Regions from separate parts of the Homo sapiens genome. Here regions 1 and 2 are each linked to region 3. The links are contacts of gene promoters, found by promoter capture Hi-C in blood cells and fetal thymus (Javierre and others, 2016). All regions are on one chromosome and are shown on one strand. Each heading gives the region's core, a stretch centred on a gene start or on the middle of the fragment in contact. The rest is flanking DNA. Distances are from core to core; before and after follow the strand shown. Region 1 overlaps PPP2R5E (protein phosphatase 2 regulatory subunit B'epsilon). Region 2 overlaps PPP2R5E (protein phosphatase 2 regulatory subunit B'epsilon). Region 3 holds the start of SGPP1 (sphingosine-1-phosphate phosphatase 1).

What was found. Contacts are between HindIII fragments. The CHiCAGO score rates a contact against its expected background, and 5 or more counts as called.
Region 1: a contact is called between a fragment that was not itself captured here and the fragment with the promoter of SGPP1 in region 3, in 1 of 17 cell types (megakaryocytes). The highest score is 5.5, in megakaryocytes.
Region 2: a fragment that was not itself captured here is called in contact with the fragment with the promoter of SGPP1 in region 3 in 2 of 17 cell types (fetal thymus and megakaryocytes); the score reaches 5.7 in fetal thymus.

The regions. Positions count from the first base shown.
Region 1 is chr14:63,380,500-63,383,199 of GRCh38, forward strand. It overlaps PPP2R5E (protein phosphatase 2 regulatory subunit B'epsilon), which reads right to left. Exons shown (of 14, transcript NM_006246.5): 13 at 1,557-1,658. Among named protein-coding and RNA genes, the nearest start is that of GPHB5, 63 kb to the left of the region's middle. The HindIII fragment of the contact is 480 bases long and covers 1,061-1,540 here.
Region 2 is chr14:63,437,766-63,440,465 of GRCh38, forward strand. All of the region lies in intron 3 of PPP2R5E (protein phosphatase 2 regulatory subunit B'epsilon), which reads right to left. Among named protein-coding and RNA genes, the nearest start is that of PPP2R5E, 100 kb to the right of the region's middle. RefSeq lists a silencer at 246-540. The HindIII fragment of the contact is 203 bases long and covers 1,319-1,521 here.
Region 3 is chr14:63,726,747-63,729,446 of GRCh38, forward strand. It overlaps SGPP1 (sphingosine-1-phosphate phosphatase 1), which reads right to left and starts at 1,319. Exons shown (of 3, transcript NM_030791.4): 1 at 515-1,319. The coding sequence starts at 1,198. RefSeq lists enhancers at 465-966, 611-660, 1,621-1,810 and silencers at 921-1,020, 1,311-1,410. The HindIII fragment of the contact is 15,620 bases long and covers 1-2,700 here.

The DNA.
Region 1 (2,700 bases), core at 51-2,550, 350 kb before region 3:
AAAATACAAAAAATTAGCCAGGCGTGGTGGCGGGTGCTTGTAGTCCCAGCTACTTAGGAGGCTGAGGCAGGAGAATGGCATGAACCTGGGAGGCGGAGCTTGCAGTGAGCTGAGATCGCGCCACTGCACTCCAGCCTGGGCAACAGAGCAAGACTCCATCTCAAAAAACAAAAAAAAAAAAGTTGTTTAAACTGTGAGTATGGAATAACATATCCCATAATTGATAATAATCCCAATATTCTGGGTAAAAAATCCCAGCCTCTTCTGAGATTCTCAGCTAAATACTCACCACATTCCATAATTAAGTTGGTTTTCATAAACCACATCCCTGGTAACTTAAAACAAAAAAATCATTGCAATGGTCCCTCTGCCATCAAACCTTTCCCCTCATTGCTCTTTTTATCAATAAAATGCAAGTTGACAGACTAAAAATGAGACAAAGCAAAGCACCAAGGGAACCAGAGAGGTTCAGCAAGACCCTGGGTATGAACACTCGCACACATCTCTGGGTCCTCTAAGGTCCATAGCTTTATGATATACAAAGCTGACATCTGCTTATGGATGATCAAAGCCAAACCACAGGCGCAACTACTAAGAGCTCTCTAGACTTCTATAATCTCCCCAAGTACATCTTTTGGAAAGTAGAATGCATTGGACAAGATTTTTACTAAGCCATAAGCATTTATTGCAAAGAGTTCCACTGGTTTGTTCTCCCATATGGTCTCAAACATTTCTGGTTAATACCAGACTATTAACCTTCATGTTCTTTTCACTGATCTTTAAATTGTAATAAATTTGTTGGGTTCTAGTAAGTCCTGGGCCCAAGAGCTAGATAAATGGTGCCTCATTCCCCCTGCTATTGGAGTGAAGTACAAGATCTGCCCAATTATACTTCAAGTAAGTTCAGAGTGGGAGTGAATCCCAGAGAGCAAACTACCTGATGGTCCCTTTAAGTGAACCTAAAATACCAGTTAAATGCTGGGCTCTTAACCCTGAGGCAGAAGTGAAATATTATTAAAGAAAGGAAAGAAAGCGGGCTTTATCAAAATGAGTGTCAGGAAGCTTTGTTACTCAGTGGCACAGTAATAAATAAATAAAGACACAGTTAATAAGTGTGCAAAAATGAATATATAAATACAGTCATGTGCCAAATAACAACATTTCGGTCAACACAGACCACATATACCACGGTGGTCCCATAAAATTTTAACAGGGTTGAAAAAGGCCTACTGCCTAGTGATTTGTGTTACAATTGGCTACGGTATTCACCACAGGTTTGTAGCCTGGGAAGAACAGGCAATACTACATAGTTCAGGTGTGTCATAGTAGGCTACACCATCTAGGTTTGTGTAATTACTGTATACTTATGATGTTCACACAATACAATTGCCTAAGGATGCATTTCTCAGAACATATACTGGTTGTTAAGTAATGCATGACTGTAAACAAAATTGTGCTGCTTAAGATTTGGGGTACAATTAGGCAACTTCAGCAAAGAGCAAGGAAAAAACTCAATAGCTTTATGCACAGCTGACAAAAAAGCTTTAAAAAGTTACCGCTGACGATCTGACTTGTATGTGGCTGTCAGCTCGTCAAACATGGTGCTGTTCATTTCCATAAATGCCTTCAACACATTGTACACCAACGCCACAATAGCCCTGGAAAGCACAGAAAAAAAGGAGTGTGTTAGTTAGTCTTATAAAATGGGATACTGAATGAAGAAAGCAAAAGCACAACTTTTGTCTGAATGATTTCTCGTACTGCACACTGTCTGTATCCTTTTTTAGTTGGAACAACTGAAAATGACCTACAGTTCATTTCCACATCAAGAGATTTCAAGGCAAGATAATTTTCTGAGGGGTGGTAGAACTAGAAAAAAAATCTAACTTTGCCCTTCTAATTTCTTTTTTTTTTTTTTTGCAACGGAGTTTCGCTCTTGTTGCCCAGGCTGGAGTGCAATGGCACCATCTTGGCTCACCGCAACCTCCGCCTCTTGGGTTCAAGCAATTCTCCTGCCTCAGTCTCCTGGGTAGCTGGGATTACAGAAGCGAGCCACCACACCTGGCTAATTTTGTATTTTTAGTAGAGACGAGGTTTCTCCATGTTGGTCAGGCTGGTCTCGAACTCCCAACCTCAGGTGATCTGCCTGCCTCGGCCTCCCAAAGTGCTGGGATTATAGGCGTGAGCCACCACACCTGGCCTGCCCTTCTAATTATTGGCACCCAGAATAGAGCTGCCTGTGGGCATTTGATAATTTCATTTAATAAAAAGGCAAGTATAATAGTAAAGCAATTTCACCCTAAAATAAGGATCTGTGATAGCACTAACCTTAGACATCTGAATTTGCATAGAATTCTATTTTCTAAATAACACATAATTCATCAAAATCAGAAGCTACTTCCCTAGAAACAAATGTTATATATATATGTGTATATATATAAATTATTCTTATCCAAAGAAATGAAATCAAGCCCTCATGTAGGTTGGGTGGTTCAATATGAATTATCTGTCTAGCTCTGATCTGCACCAGTCCTGCTGACCCAAAATATATGCTGATAACTGGCAAGCTGGGATGGTTGCTATTAGCTATGGGACACTATACAGCTAAACAGCCAAAATGGTAGCCCATACTTAACAAGAATTAGCTCTTGGGCAATGTGAGGACAAGGTTATGATGGGCTTGATAGCTTCAGACTAGAG
Region 2 (2,700 bases), core at 170-2,669, 290 kb before region 3:
AACATCATATTTTCCAATAGAACTTCCTTGTCCATTTTGTCAAAAAAATACACTTGCTCTCCAACTTAGCAAATAATTATAACCAGCCTGATTTTTACTGAGAAATGTCTTTCCTTGTGTGTGCCACTCCTGACCCTCCTCACCATGACCCCACCAGCTGTCCCTCTCCACTACTTGGCCAACCCTCACCTCTCTCTACTCATCACAGAAATGGCATTTCTACTCTATAGTCTAGTGTCTTTGCACCATTTTTCAGAGGCAACTTGCTCCTGAGAAGTCACTGAATAGCATATTTCTTCTTGTTTTCCTACAGATCAAGTTTGGCTTTAAATACTGGTCAGCAGCCAACTGCCTCCTGGAAATGACCTGCTCATTGTCTGCTTGCCAGATTCTTGCCTCAGGCACTCCTGTCTCTGTGAATTCCACATTGAGGACACTCATTTTCTCAGCTTTTTCCTGCTCATCATGCACCACTGTGGTGTAACCAGCTTCCTCCAAACAATCAGCCAATAAATCCCTCTCTTTCATTTCTGTGTCTCCTCAGTAGAGAGACAGCCAAATCATACAAACTAACACCAAGAGCTGGGATTATCCAAGACCCACTTGCACATGCCACAAGCAAGATTTCACACTTTGTCATCCATGTGCTTAATAGATTTCCCAGAAGCATTGCTTATACCTTTAAACCACATTTTCAGCTTCAAGGTTAAATTAAAAGGTGGGAGAAAAGAGAAACCAAAACTTGAATGCAGTACTGTAACTTATCCTGCAAAATTCTGCTGCCAGCCACTGGGGGGAGGGGTAGAGACAGGGGGAGTATACTCATTACAGTGAGATATTATTGGATATATCAGTGCTAGACAAGTCACAGCTGTCAAACAATTTTAAGTATATTAAAAACTCTGAACAACCTTTAAAGCAGTTAAGCCAGAAGGACTACAGCTTGTAAATGAAGCAAATAGCAATCTCGAGTAGCTCAGTGGCTTCCTGAGTAAAAACCCTCTCTTTAGCACATTTAAATTAAAACTAAACACTTTAAAATCCTTGTCAGATTCCTTAAGAGAGAATGATTGCGGAGAGAAATGCTAAATTATTACTAGAGTTGGGGACGTGAATATGCAAGTATATCAGGAATTCATTTAGATGAACTTAGGGCAGTATATATATAAATGTATATATAACTATAAACACAGGGGCATATGCAGTTTCACAGGCAGTTCTCCCAAAAAAAAAAGGTATGAAAATAAAACTTCATAGAGAGTTTGAAATCAATAGTCAGACAAAAGATATGGAAAGTCATCTGAAAAAGACAAAAAAAAGCTTTCAGGTTAGCAAGACTTCATTGTAACCAGAAAAATGTATTAACCAATATAGACAGGTTAAGTCTACTGGGGTGCTAGAGATGGTACCATGAATAATGATAATAATGATATGGTGACTTTAACAATGCTTACCACAGTGCTAAGCACTGTTCATAAATTAATTTTCAAAACAACCTTATAGAGTTATAGTATAATAACAAGCTTAGAGGGATGAGACTCACCTGGGATCACATAGTTCAGTAAGTGGCCAGACTGGGTCCTGGTCTGTTTTTTTTTTTTGTTTTTGTTTTTGTTTCTGTTTTTTGAGACGGAGTTTTGCTCTTGTTGCCCAGGCTAGAGTGCAATGGCACGATCTCGGCTCACAACAACCTCCACCTCCCAGGTTCAAGCCATTCTCCTGCCTCAGCCTCCACAGTAGCTGGGATTACAGGCATGCGCCACCAGGCCTGGCTAATTTTGTATTTTTAGTAGAGACGGGGTTTCTCCGTGTTGGTCAGGCTGGTCTCGAACTCCGGACCTCAGGTGATCCACCCTCCTCGGCCTCCCAAAGTGCTGGGATTACAGGCGTGAGCCACCGCGCCCAGCCGGGTTCTGGTCTGTTTGTCTATGCCACTGACCCAGGAAGGACAGTAAAAAGGAAAAGCAGGCTGTACACACATAAGTGCTTCCAAGGATTAGGATGTCCATCATGGAGATGGAGGGATGTTTGAATCATCTAATTAACTCCCCTTGCTCTGAATTCAGGCTAACCAACCAACCTAAGGATTCCTTGGCAGCTCGCATAGCTTGCCTGCAGGGAGAGAAGGCACAGTTCAAATACACACAAACAGCTATCCACTGAGCAGTGCCCTTCTCACTCTGAATTCATACACTGGCACTTTCAATTTCCATATACGTTTTCTGTGGGTCCTACCAATTCAACACAAACAGGGCTGCAAGGTGGGGCCCCTCTATGATGCACAGGTAAGGTATCGCCACGCCAATGTTACCACATAAGGAGCACCAACGGGCAGAGGAGCCTGATTTTTGGAACTTCTAAGGGTGGGGCAGAGAGAGAAGTGGAGTGGGAAAGCACATGAACTCAGGGGACTGCTATCTGGGTGGAAGAGAGAGAGGGGTGTTCTGAAATACACGGCCTTCCTCCTGGGCTCCTCCTCACCTCCTCAATCACTATTTACTTTTCCAGACTGGGAATAAGTGGTAGGGTAGAGAGAAAAATTGAGAAGCAGCGTTAACAATTCAAGAATAACACAAAGGGAGTGTAAAGCTACTATATAGGGCAGCAGAAGTGGTAGGAGAGAGGGAGTGAAGAAGAAACTGTTCTTAAGCAAAAAAAAAAAAAATGAACATTTAACCCCAGAGCATACTATGTGGTCTG
Region 3 (2,700 bases), core at 69-2,568:
TCGATTACTTCATTGCTTGGAACTAGCATGTTTGTTTTGGAATTACACTAACGTTTTGTAAACACTGTCTCACGGTAAAGCTAATGACTTTACCTCTTTCTGAAACAGTTTTAGGGAAGAAGGCACCATATATTACGGTGAAACTGGGTCTTAGTTTACATAGCGATTATTTAAAAAATTCACTTCCACTGTGCATTACAAGAATTAAAGCCGTTTAAAAAACTCAACCAAAGCCCAATGACAATGTATTACTCTAGGAAAAGTGTGTCCTTTGGGTTCTAAGGCATTAAATTGGAATTTAATATTAAAATAGAATTCAACGGCTAAGTATCCAGTTTCCCCCAATCACTTAATTTTTCAAAACCCAGAAAGGGCCTGTTTGCGAGTATTGTGAAAACCTGTGGAAAGAGAGGCTTTGGAGGGGAACGGTCGAATTAAAATAAATGCAGAGAGCAAAGAGAACTCCGAGTTCTTTGAACTCCCCCAGGCTGAACAGGACGAGAAGGAACCCTACCTGCCAGCGGCCATAGGTGAGGAGGACCATAGAAATGGGGATGGCGGTGCCGGACATGGCATGGGTGGAGGGCATGCTGTACTCAGAGTTGTAGAAGACCTCCAACTTGACCACGGGCGGCGAGGCGGGCCTCGGCCAGCGGATGATGTCCTTGGTGCACTGGCCCAGGTACATGACCAGCACCCAGATGACCACGAGCCTCCGGCCCACCAGAGGGTCCAGGTTCCAGATCCAGAAGGGGAAGAACAGGATGTAGAAGAGTTCGTTGCCCAGCTCCGTGCCGAAGCAGAACAGGCAGTAGAGCGGCCAGTTGCTCACGCGGGCCAGCTGGCCCTCCTCGCCCGTCAGCGAGTTGCGGCGCAGAGCGCCCGCGCGCCGCGGCGAGGCCGGGCCCAGCTCGGCCGCCAGCCCGTTCCGCACGCCGTTGGGGGCGCCGCCGCCGTCCGGCTTGGCCGGGCACTGATTGCGGTCGCTCCCGGGAGGCTGGGGGCCTCCAGGCGCCCCTGGCTGCCGCCCTCGCAGTCGAGGGTCTCCGGCGAGAGGCGCCTCCGCTTTCTCATCCTCCCTCCGGTCTGCTGAGCGGCGCGGCGGCGCTTCCACCCCGCACAGCCGCTGGAAACGGGCCACTTTCTGCGGGTCCTGCAGACGGCCAACCAGCTGGGCCAGGCGCTGCCTCAGCGACATGATAACGGAACCCCCGGGAAGGCGGGCCGGCCTCCGGCGCAGCCCCGAACTGTCCCCGCGCTCCTGGCCAGCGGCAGCGGAACCGGCACAGCGCTCTACCCTCCGGAGTCTGCCGGGTGACGGCGCCACAGGCCGCGCGCCCCCGCCCCGCGCGCGCCGCGCCCCGCCCCGCCCAGCCCCGCCCCCACCCGGGCTCCCTGAGGGGCCGGGCCGCGCGGGTCCGCCCTGAGCGCATCCGGCCGTGGCTTGGCGCTGAGGATCGGCGGGCGGCCGCTTTGAGGTCCCGGGTAATATCCACCAGCAGGCGTCGCGGCGTACGTCTGGTGGGACGCGGCGTGTCCCCCTGCTCCACCTTCAGCCCTTCTTCTCCGCGGGCTAGTGTCGCCGGATTCCCTCAGCCAGAAGTTGACTTAAAGAGGCCACGATCCCGGTGCCAGCTTGCGCAATGCCTGTGACCAAGCAGCCGGGCATCCTGCTGGCACAGAACCAAATGGTGAATGATCAATGAAGGCGAAGCAACTACCATGAGTTCGGAATCATTCGACTCAAGTAATTAACAAGTAATTACAGAGCTGTCCCAGGCGACTGATGTTCGGAAAACCATGTGCCAATTGACCAGTGGTGACAAGACTACATGTAGATCCCAAGACAGGGCCAGGTGATATTAACAGGTGTGGTCTGCAAAAGAAAAGCCAGCCACCTACAAATTCAAAATACTGTGTCATTTATCAAATATTTTGGTATATGTTAAGGGAGCACAGGTGTTCTTAAGTGTAAAATTTCCTTTTCCTAGATTCTAATACCTAGAGGGCTTGCACAGAATAAATGTAGAGAATGAATGCAGTGTATAGATTTTTGAGTTTGGTAACGTTAATTTAGACGCTTAACTTCCGTGTCTCACAAGTTACCAACTTGACTTCTAGCTAGAGCAGTTTATAAGGTCTCTGAACTCCTCAGGTCAGGTGAATGTCTTTTATATATACCTAGAGAGAGAGAGATGAGACAGGGTCTCGCTATATTGCCCAGGCTGGTCTCCAACTCCTGGGCTGAAGTGATTCTCCTGCCTTGGCCTCTCAAAGTGCTGTGTTTACAGGCGTGAGCCACCACACCCGCCATGATCAGGTGAATGTCTGTAATTAAAGAATGTGAACTACTTCCAAGAAACAGGCTTGAAATTGTCCCATGCCCTTAAAACAGTAGAAATACTTTCCTTCAGGCGTGGTAGTTCATGCCTATAATCTCAGCACTTTGGGAGGTCGAGGAGGGAGGATGGCTTGAGTCCAGGAGTTTGACAACAGCCTGGGCAACATAGGGAGATCCCACCTCTACAAAAAATGAACAAAATTAGCCGGGCAGGGCTGGGCACAGTGGCTCACGCCTGTAACCCCAACACTTTGGGAGGCCAAGGCGGGCGGATCACCTGAGGTCGGGAGTTCAAGACCGGCCTGACCCACATGGAGAAACCCCGTCTCCACTAAAAATACAAAATTAGCCGGGCGGGG